Regions from separate parts of the Homo sapiens genome. Here region 2 is linked to region 1. The links are contacts of gene promoters, found by promoter capture Hi-C in blood cells and fetal thymus (Javierre and others, 2016). All regions are on one chromosome and are shown on one strand. The core of a region is centred on a gene start or on the middle of the fragment in contact, and the rest is flanking DNA. Distances in the headings are between cores, read along the strand shown.

Region 1 (5,500 bases), core at 1-2,500:
CAAATTTTTAACTACCCAGGATGTCGAGTTTCTATCTCCTTCCACAGCTGCAACGCTTTTATTTCTTGAGGCACAGAAATGGTCTCTGAACGAACTCCTGTTATTTCAGCACTTTTTGCAAAATACAATACTTCAACCTGAAAGTAAAGAAAATGCTTTTAATAACAACTCATACTCGTTTTCTGACTGTCAATGTTGAGCAGTTTTCTCATTTTCCAAATGTATTGCTTTAATCAAAGACAAATTTTATAAAGAAAATTAAATAACCCGTAAAAAATTTCAGTATACCTACAAGTTCAAATTCTGAAAACTTGTTGTTTTAAATACAATTCAGACTAATTTCTGGATGCCTTTTAGTTTTACAAACTTAAGTGTGCCATCATTAAAATCCTAAGTATTTATCTTCTAGGAAAACATGTTAAGCCTGCCTTAATTGACATAAAAGTATAGCACCTTTTATAAATATGTAAGCAAAGAACAAATGTTTGAGTCAAGAGATGAGTTACACAAATAAAATAAATGAATAAATAAGCGAAAAACCTGTTTCTCACGGTTGTCAAATGACCTTAGATTCCGGTCTGTATAACATCGTCCCCAGACGCTAAGGATTAAGTTATGCAACATAGTAAATCTGACATTTACAGAAGCAAGTAGGTTTGAAACACACGACAGACTGGAATTTGCTAGAACAAACTTGTGCCAGCAGCCTGGTATGTAAGGGATCCGACGAAGTAAAATAGGCACCTGTCACTCCGTGCAAACAACTCTTTACGAAATAATTACAGGTTTGCAAATGATCAAGGGTGTAGAAATCCACAGATGAAGCACAGTTCTTCACAAGAATTCTCCATGAGGTGCATTTCTTTTTAGATTAAAATTTTAGCTTCATCAAAACGAATAATCTGGGAAAGAGGTGGTCATAAAAGGTGGAGGCGCCTTCAGAACGAGTCCGTCCTTGCTGCCGTGAGCTGACAAGAGTTCTCGGAGAGGACCCGACTTCTGCTGGGGCAGTCGCAGTAAAGCCCGGAGACAGGAAGGGCCCGGGGGCGGGGGCGGGGGCGCCCCCGAACCCAAGACGCCGGCCAGGTTGGGGGCTAGTGGGGAGGTCCGACTGACCAAGGCTGGGTATGTGGAGGGAAAGGGCGGGAGAGACACGTCGAGGAGGGCTCCGCACCCAGGCCCGCACGCACACCCGCCACCCTTACCTGGCACAGCGGCACCATCCCGCCTAGGACAGCGGGACCGAATCACGGCCGCAAAGGCGCAGGCGCGGGCTCACCCGGAGCGCAGGCGTAACCCGACGGCGCTCAGCCCCCGCCTGCGCCTGCACGGAGCATGCGCACAACCAGCTCCGCCCCGCGCCGGGCTCTAGCTGTTTCCCTCAGGCGGCCTGTTCCACGCCAGGATTAGTTTTGCTTCGCAGATGGGCCGTGGTGGTGAGAGGAAGCAATCAGTATGGAAATGGAGAAATGGCTTACCATGCATGTCCTTCTCCCCAGGAGGGAGGTCGTGGTGCAGGCGAGCAGACGCCAGACTCCTGGACACTTGCCGCCTGCGTTATGGAGGCTTAGCTAATAACCTTGCAGGGGTCTTCAGGCTTTTCCACTGGCTCACCTTTAGGCTTCTGACACTTTTACCTACGGTATGTGAACCTCGAAAATTTGAGACAGGTCTCAGTTAACTTAGAAAGTTTATTTTGCCAACGTTGAGGACATGCCCGTGACACAGCCTCAGGAAGTCCTGAGGACATGTGCCCAAGGTGGTCAGGGCACAGCTTGGTTTTATACATTTTGGGGAGACAGGAGACATCAATCAATATGTAAAAAGTACATTAGTTCCTTCCAGAAAGGCGGAGACCGTTAAAAGCAAGCCCCGCCCCCCCCAACTGGGGGCTTCCAGGTAGGTAATAGACAGTAGCATTCTTTTGAGTTTCTGATAAGTCTTTCTAAAGGAGGCAATCAGAATATGCATCTATTCTTTGTCAGCAAAAGAGGTGACTTGGATAGAATAGGAGGCAGATTTGCCCTGAGTAATTCCCAGTTTGAAGGGGCCCAAGATTTTTTTCTTTCCCAGGTATATGATTAGTGTTTCTTAAAGACAGAATATCCGCCTGGTCAGAACATTCGAACTGTATGACTTTTCCTGTTTATTGGCTGCTCGGTAATTGTATACTGTCCGTCCAACTTTCCCAATTCTTGCCAACAAGAACTCTTGGCTTTAAATTGCTTGCGTCGTTAAGTGGATGTAAGTTACACGTCCCTTTCCTTGGAGCTCACAGTCCTGGGTAGGAGAGTTTTAAATATGAATGATAATTCCCTGTAATACTAAGGATCTGTGTTACATTTCAAGGGTGGAAGGGGAAAGTGGTTGTGTCACCTGGGGAGTGAGAAGATGCTGAGAAGGTAAATCTGCTAGAATGGTGGCAGTAAATGACAAGAGTGGGAGTAGAGCACGAAGAAATTTCACTTGCCTCTGACAAGCCACAGGGATATGAAGAAGCATAATAAGTTCACAGAAGGGCAAGTAGTTGGCAAGGCAGGTGTGCCTCCAGCAAAGGAGGTGATGAGAAGTGAGGCTGGAGAGTCCTTGGTAGGAAAAATTGACAAGGAGCAATGAATACCAATGTGTATCCTGGTAAAGTTGCTAAACATAAAGGATAAAGACTATATTCACACCCAGGCATAAAAACAAGGGAATGACAATAGTGGCCTTAGACTCCTCAGTGGCATCTGATGGCAATGTGCAGTGTGTAAAAAAGGCTGAGAACAAAAGCATGATCCCATAATATTACAGCCAAACTGGTGGGGCAGGATTCTCCTAAATCAGCAAAAACTCAAAAAACACAATACCCAAGAACCCTTCTTAAAAATCTTTCTTGGGCAAAAAGTCCACTCAATCAAGAGTAATCAAAGTAAATAACTCAGCAATAAAGGTATTAATATGGGAAAAATGAAAAACTAAAAAAACTGGCATTGAGATTTTAACCCATTCAAACGTAAAACTAAGATATCAATTATGGGATATGATTATAAAATAAAATGTAAATGACATCAGAATATTAAAAAAAAATGGAAACTGTCCAAAGTGGGAACATATAGTTACAAAATATCAATTCAGGTTTCTTAATATTTTTCATAATCTTCTTTATTTTAGAAAATATTTTAGGAGCAACTATCTTTTACAAATAAACAATAATCTGATGATTTATAATCCTATCAGTTTCACCAGTTATTTTGTTGATAAATTCAAGTAAATATAGGTCAATAATATTGCCTTGCTTTCATTTTTTTATTTTCTAATTCCTAATGAGGTGAATCTTTTCATATTTTCATTGAGCACTTATACTTCTCTGTGAAGTTTCTGTTCACATCGTTTATTCATTATGCTGTAGATATGACACAGTTCTTTTTTTTTTTACAAAATACAGCCCCATCTATAATTTGTGGATATGCAAGCAAAACTGATACCAAAATATTCCAGGCTTATTCCATAGGCTTTGATTTTACTTTTCTTATGAATTCATTAATTAAATCAGTGAATCATCACAATGGTATATAAATTATTTTAGTAATAGCAAAATGACTTTATGAACATTTGCATTTCACTTAAGCTACAATTTTTTGTGAAAACATAGTTGGAGCCACCATTTTCCCAGTTATTTTTACCATAAGGAATCCTATTTGGTTAAGAAAAAAAACAAGTTGAGGCAAAAACATTTCCATTTTGTTTTCAGATTGAAAAAAGACGAGATTCCATGAGACTAGAAATGTAGGAGCATCTCAGACCTTCACAGAACGCTCTGTTAGAAGATGAGAAACATAACGTTGCTTGTGAGAGGTGAAGCCAGCTGGACTTCCTGGGTCGAGTGGGGACTTGGAGAACTTTTCTGTCTAGCTAAAGGATTATAAGTGCACCAATCAGCACTCTGTAAAAACACACCAGTCAGCGCTCTGTGTCTAGCTAAAGGATTGTAAATGCACCAATCAGCACTCTGTAAAATGGACCAATCAGTACCCTGTAAAATGGACCAATCAGCAGGACGTGGGCAGGGACAAATAAGGGAATAACAGCTGGCGCCCCTAGCCAGCAGTGGCAACCCACTCGGATCACCTTCCATGCTGTGGAAGCTTTGTTATTTCACTTTTCACAATAAATCTTAGGGTTGCTTACTTTTTGGGTCCATGCCACCTTGAAGAGCTGTAACACTCACCACGAAGGTCTGAGGCTTCATTCTTGAAGTCAGACTAAGAACCCACCGGAAGGAACCAATTCCAGACACACGTGTAGTAGCAAATTATCAAAAATGTTCATTGCCTTTTCTGAAAAACAATTTTCCCAGAAACACCTGGCAGAATCAGAGTTCATTGTGTCAAAAGAAAAACTTTGGACAAATTAAAATGAGCAAAGAACAATTTGTGAAATGTGCCCCTCTCCCAACCAGAACAGGTTCAAAGAGACTCCAGTGCTGCCACATGATCAAAGAATTATGGACAAAAAAAGCAAATAAATTACAGGAAAAGAAAATGAGGTACAGAAACAGCTGGATTGGTTACAGCTTGGTGTTTACCTTACTTGAACAAGGTTCGAACAGTTGGCTGCCTTTGATGGGCTGCAACACAGTGATTGGTATAAGAGTAGGTTACAGCCTGTTTACACATGCAGTTAGGTTACAATTCACTGTGTGTTGAGAAACCTTTAGGCCAAACTTAAAATTTGTAAGGAGGCAGCTTTAGGCTTAACTTGATTTAAAAGTTATTAGATGTTCCATCAGTCGTTTCGCCAATAGGTAATAGGTTTTTTTGGTTTTGTTTTCTGTGCTATTAAAATAGTATATAAAACTTGTCATCATTGATTCTGATTTATCATGTTACAGTTCAGTCTCTAATTGAACTGAGCCTATTTTTTTCCGTAAAATCCAACCTATTCATCCATTTATACAGATTTTTTAAAATCTAAATATTTTATATCAAATTGCTAAAAATGTTTAGTCACATTCTTTTTCTATTGCTGCCCATATATTTTCTGCCATCATTTTCAGCTGCTAAATAGTATCTAGTCCTAGATATCTGGTTACCCATTATCAGGAACTCTTCGTGAAATGCTTTAGTGACCTTGTTTAAGTCAGTAATAAAGTTGAGATTTATAATCATATTCTATTACCAAAAAAAATACAGGTAATAGATTTTCAAATGTCAGCCCATGTCTACTCCTTTATTTCCCAGTGTGGCAGAATTTTTGAACAGTGAAAATATTTCTGTCTGAGGAAGTTTGGACTATGTGGTGTGAGATCCGTAGACATTGGACTAATGTCATTAACATATTTTAATATTTAAATTTCTTATTAAAAAATAGATAATGCAGTAGTTACTTTTTGAAGGACGACCGAAGCAGGATATTTCCCTGACCCCTTCATGGGACCCACGTCAGAGGTGTTTACTCAGCCTGCTGCCCACAACTCCTCACAGGAGGGAGCGCACAAGTGAACGAGGGTGAGGACTGG
Region 2 (5,500 bases), core at 1-2,500, 5.4 Mb after region 1:
GTCAATCTAAATGAAAAAGCAAGGTAAGGCTTATTAGCTTCCAGTCACCTCGGAAAAGCCAGTGATTACACATGCAGAAGACATTTTCCTAACAGGGAAGGGCCATCCTTGCACACAAAGAAAATACTTTACTCAAGAGTCATACGCACCTTTTCCCTTTGATGAGGTTTAGCTACTCTGCTGTGAGGAATAATTTTTGCGGCGTAGACTTTGTTATTTGTCAAATCTGTCATCTCGTAACATTTTGCAAAGCCACCCTGAAAGGAAACAAAGCCGAGACGGAATTGAGGATGGCACAAAAATGGACGGCAGATATTTTAAATAAATAAATAAATGGGAAGAAAGAAAAGCAAAAAAAAAAAAATTGAGGAATGGAGGAGGGTGGACAGAGGGAGGCATTCGACTTCGTTAAAGCTCCCTCATGAAGAGAAATGCATTGCTGGAAACAGCAAGTTCAAACAGTTTCTCTTCTTCTTTTATAAAGGGGAGCTTTATGGAGGGAGTTGGAACGGGGAGACATGAAAAATAATCTCTGATGAGACTTGTCAGGAAAATTCCCTGGGAGCAGATAGAGGGAGAGAGGTCTGATGTAGAAAGCCCTCGCTTCCAGACTCAAGATGCATTTCTCTGGGCTGCGGGAGACACACAGTTCTGAGGCTAAGAATGCAAAGCCGATCCCCAGCGCTGCCGGCGCACAAAAGCCAGAGGGCAGGTGAGGAGCCCACCTCGCGCTGGGATCGGACCCCCGAAAAACCCGGAAGCGGCGGGCGAGGGACCCCGCGGGCTTGCCCGGCTTGGGGTCGCCCGGACAGACCTCCCGCCCGCCCGGCAGCCCGGCGCCCTCCGCTTGTCACCTTTCCCAGCACTTTGCCCCGGCAGTAGCGCTTCCCAGTCGTGGGGTCGACGATAATCCGCGAGATCTCCGGCCCCGAGTGCGAATGGTGGTGATGGTGGTGAGGGGCCGCCGGGGGCACTTGCGCCTGGGACTGAGGTGGCTGCGATTCCTCGGGGGGCTGCGGCGGCCGCTTCTTCTTCGAGTCCGCTCCGCAACCCTTGCCCAGCGCCTGCTCGCACATTTTGGTGCTGGCGGCTGGCTGGTAGGTGATAGTCCGCAAAAGCTCCATGGTCGCCTTGCCGCCCCGCACTGCCCGCTGCCACCCCCTAGGCGCGGTCACACGTCCGAGCCGGCCGTGGTCCTCGCACCCTTGCCTCTGGTGCCGACTAGCACCCAACACCCCGGTCCACTTGTGCGAGTGAGAGCGCTCGGCGAAGTCTTATATACGGGGAGGCGGGAAGGGGGCGGAGACTCGATACGCGACATCACGTCACGGCCTATGCCCCGCCCCACGGCCGGCCGAGCGCGCGTGGCCGGGAAGCAAGTCTTGTCCCGCCACCCGGGTCTCGCTTCCCAGCGGAGCCGCGCGCCTCAAACGCCGGCCGCCGAGATCTCTTGCGGCCGCGGGAAGGCCTTCAGAGCCGTCCGTGGGCCCCGCTGTCCCGTTCTTCGAAGGCTCCGAGCCTCAGCGTACAAAACAGAATCGCGAGGGCCGACGCCTGGCCTCACCCCCGCCCCAGCCGCCTGGTGGCAGGGCAGTGCCGTGACCCGAGCGAGTCGGGCGCGGGTGTAGACGCAGTCCCTCCCCCGCACAGCCCTTCCCGGCCGCCCGGGGCCTCCTGTGTCAAGGTATCAGGGTGCCCGGAGCCCGCCGCACGGGCAGGCGAGGCCTCCTCCGGCCGTATGACAGGGCTCGTCTGCAGCTGCCCCGCAGTGCCTGCCCGCGCTGTGACGAGCTCGCTGGTGTCTAGCTGGGGCAGTGCCGAGAGGCCGTGGGGGTGAAAGGCCGGGATTCGTGGAGCCGGGCATTCGAGCCCATCGCGCTAGGGCAGACACGGGCCCGCAGCCGGGATCCCGGGCCGATCGGCCAACCGTGCCAGGATCCCACTCGAGGCCCGTCTGGCCCCCGCCCATGCCCCTAGAGCGAGCCTCTGTCTGAGGTCGGCCCCTGAACCTTGCAGAGCGAGGTCGGCGTCCTGGCAAGGCGTCCTCCGCCCGTAGCCCGAAGATTGGAAAGCAAGGGCGCCATCTTGTGGAATGTTCCGGAATGCCGTTAGGTGTCGAAGTGGGCAGCGGTTGACAACCGTGGGCCTTTGACAGTTACTAGTACTAAACATCGATGCCGATTGTGAGTTTCCAATCAGAGTCATCTATGACTTCTTCCGAATGCATCTGTTGAGATGGCTCATGAGCTGCCCTGGTTCCTGGAGAGTCAATCTGAGACTTTCTGGGGTAGGGAGATTGGTAGGATGAAGAGAGGAGCGTAGGCCAGTGAGTGCAAACACAGCTTAGTTTCCCATTTCCAGATTTTGCTGTGCAGTTTGACTAATCTAGGAACACGTTTTTTTGTTTGTTTTTCTTGTTCTAATTACGATAGAGTAACATTTATTGAGGACTGTGCAGTATTTTTAAATGCCTTATTTCATCCTACAACAATTCTGAGAGAAATATTGTAAGGAAGGAAAAATAATTTTCCACCTTTCAAAGTTTTGGCCTGGGTCGCTGTAACCAGACAGATTAACAAGAAAACAAAGAAGCTTATTAACATATACGTCTCATATATACATGGGAGATAACCAGGAAAATTAGAGATGGTTTAAAATCGGGCTTAAATACTATCTTTAGCTAAACCAAAAGAAAAGAGTGGGGCAGGCAAGTTAAGGAATCATGACCAGGAAATGTACGGTAAACAGGAGTGGGGTTTCTTATTTCTTCATTGATAAGTTTTTCATGATTTAGAGTCATTCTTCCTGGTACAGAGGAGACACTTTTACAAATGGAGTTTTGTGGGGTTTTTTTGTTTTTTGTTTTTGTTGTTTTTTTTTTTAGTGAATGTACGTTTCCCTTACGAAAGGGTAATATGCCATTTTTAGAGCATTTCCTGGGTCTGCTGGTTCTCAAAATAATTATCTTAAAATAATCTTTATCCCAGGGCCATATTTGGGGTGGCATATTCTCATCTCCTACATTATTATTCCCATTTTATAGATGAGGCTTGGAGAACTTAGGTAATTATTGTATATTTTTACTAGATCATCGAGGTTAGGTTAATTAGCAGCACACTTGAATCTTTTTACCTATGTTAACAGGATATGGTAAATAGTTTTTTGAAGCTAAATTCCAGAGAAATTTAGAATACCAGATTATTGAATCCCTGGAAGGTACATACAAAAAGTTGCTGCAGTCCACTGTCAAATTTAGGTATGTGTGGTATCAACATTAATCGAACATTTACAAAAATACTGTGTCTCAAATACTTCCAGCATAATGTGGAAAAGAGGCTTATTGCCATTAGAGAGGAGAAAGGGAAAGGCTTTGCCATTAGCGAGGAGAAAGGGAAAGTCTTTGCTGTCACTTCCGTTTTTGATTCTTTAAAGAGTGCAGGGCAAGTCCAGGCATGTTTCTCATAAGTGACAATAGACTTTAACCCCAAGATTGTCAGGGATGGAATAAGGGGTGGGGCTTAGGGGTGGAAATTCAGAATTACGTAATTATCCTCTTTATTCATAAGCCCAGGGGTGACCTTTGCTTCCCAGATTTGTGCAAACCTACTCTCTAAGATGTAGAAGGCTTGCAGGTTTAGAAAATATTACTAGAATTTATCAAAGCTAGTTTACACACCATGTCTTTATGGTTGATAATAAACTGTATATGTATACATATGTGTGTATGTGTATGTGTATTCATTTGTGGCCTAAGATAAAAAACTGAAGAATAGATTGTCATGATTTTTTTTTAAATGTCAATTTCTTCTTTGATTAGCATACACTATGGTATGTATCTTTACCAAATGGACTTCAGTATTTGATAAACTGTTGAACATTCCATGTGAAATTCAGGTCTGTCTGCCACAACATGGAGGCATTTAATAAAATATTAACGCTGTGTAAATCTTATGTTGTCTTCTTTCCGACTGAGAACATGATTTTTTTGGGGTTGTGGTGCCATCATGTGGACAGAACCAAAATTGTAGTCTATAGAACAAAAAAGGAAATAAATGCGCTTTCTATTAAGTAGACTAATTACTAAATATCATGGAGTCAATTTGGTAACCAGTAGGAAGGAAAAAATGGATCCATGCTTCATATCTGGCTTATTTTCAAGCAAATGAAAGTTTGAAATACGTGAAATTTTAAGACAATATGAAAGAATTCTTTCATAGCCTGAATGTGGTAGAACTTTCAACTATTTACAAAATCTAGAATCCCTAAAAAAAAAAAAAAAGCAAGATTCATTAATGTAACTATATAGAAACAAAACCCTTTCATTGATTTAAAATAACAAAACACCACAAATAAAGTCAAAGGATAAATAACACTGGAAAAATTATTTTCAACTCATCACAGAGAAAGAGCTTATCTTCCTGTTATATAAAAACTCCTACAATTGGATAAAATACCAATTATCCAACAGAAAACAAATGGTTCTTACATTTGCTCAATTTCACTCTTCAGAAGAGAAATTGAAATGAAAGATATACTGAGGCACCCTTTCCTACAAAATTGGCAAAACCCTCAAAAGTTGCCGTGAACATGCTCAACTGCTGAAGTGTTGAGGAAGCAGCACTCCATATATTGCTGTTGGGAATGGAAATTGATATAATTTCAGTGAAAAGTAATTTGGCCAAATCTATCAAATTTAGAAATGAATGTATTCTCTTACTTAGGAATTTATCCTATGGATATAATCTCATATATAAAATGATGCATGACACATCAACAAATGATAAAAACCCTGGCCAAATTAAGCCCAATTCTTACATTTGTCAATAAGTTTTTATTTAAAAGAACCGTGCCCATTTGCCGGGATCTAATTAAACTAAAGAGCTTCTGCACAGCAAAAGAAACTATCGTCAGAGTGAACAGGCAGCCTACAGAATGGGAGAAAATTTTTGCAATCTATCCATCTTACAAAGGGCTAATATCCATCATCTACAAAGAACTTAAACAAATTTACAAGAAAAAAAACAACCCCATCAGAAAGTGGGCAAATGATATGAACAGACACTTCTCAAAAGAAAACATTTATGCTATCAACAAACATGAAGAAAAGCTCATCATCACTGGTCATTAGAGAAATGCAAATCAAAACCACAGTGAGATACATCTCACGCCAGTTAAAATGGCGATCATTGAGAAGTCAGGAAACAACGAATGCTGGAGAGGATGTGGAGAAATAGGAACGCTTTTACATTGTTGGTGGGAGTGTAAATTAGTTCAATTGTGGAAGACAGTGTGGCCATTCCTCAAGGATCTAGAACCAGAAATACCATTTGACCCAGCAATTCCATTACTGAGTGTATACCCAAAGGATTATAAATCATTCTACTATAATGACACATGCACATGTATGTTTATTGCAGCACTGTTCACAGTAGCAAAGACTTGGAGCTGACCCAAATGCCCATGAATGATAGATTGGATAAAGAAAATGTGGCACATATAC

The links. The method cuts DNA at HindIII sites, captures the fragments that hold promoters and counts their contacts. A CHiCAGO score of 5 or more calls a contact.
Region 2: a contact is called between the fragment with the promoter of PLK2 here and the fragment with the promoter of MOCS2 in region 1, in 1 of 17 cell types (activated CD4 T cells). The highest score is 10.2, in activated CD4 T cells.

What each region holds. Positions count from the first base shown.
Region 1 is chr5:53,108,507-53,114,006 of GRCh38, forward strand. It overlaps MOCS2 (molybdenum cofactor synthesis 2), which reads right to left and starts at 1,251. Exons shown (of 7, transcript NM_004531.5): 1 at 745-1,251; 2 at 16-137. It overlaps MOCS2-DT (MOCS2 divergent transcript), which reads left to right and starts at 1,336. Exons shown (of 2, transcript NR_104654.1): 1 at 1,336-1,642; 2 at 5,353-5,500. RefSeq lists a silencer at 990-1,279. The HindIII fragment of the contact is 4,897 bases long and covers 1-4,125 here.
Region 2 is chr5:58,458,836-58,464,335 of GRCh38, forward strand. It overlaps PLK2 (polo like kinase 2), which reads right to left and starts at 1,251. Exons shown (of 14, transcript NM_006622.4): 1 at 855-1,251; 2 at 150-257; 3 at 1-6. The coding sequence starts at 1,124. RefSeq lists a silencer at 1,569-1,748. The HindIII fragment of the contact is 4,873 bases long and covers 1-2,590 here.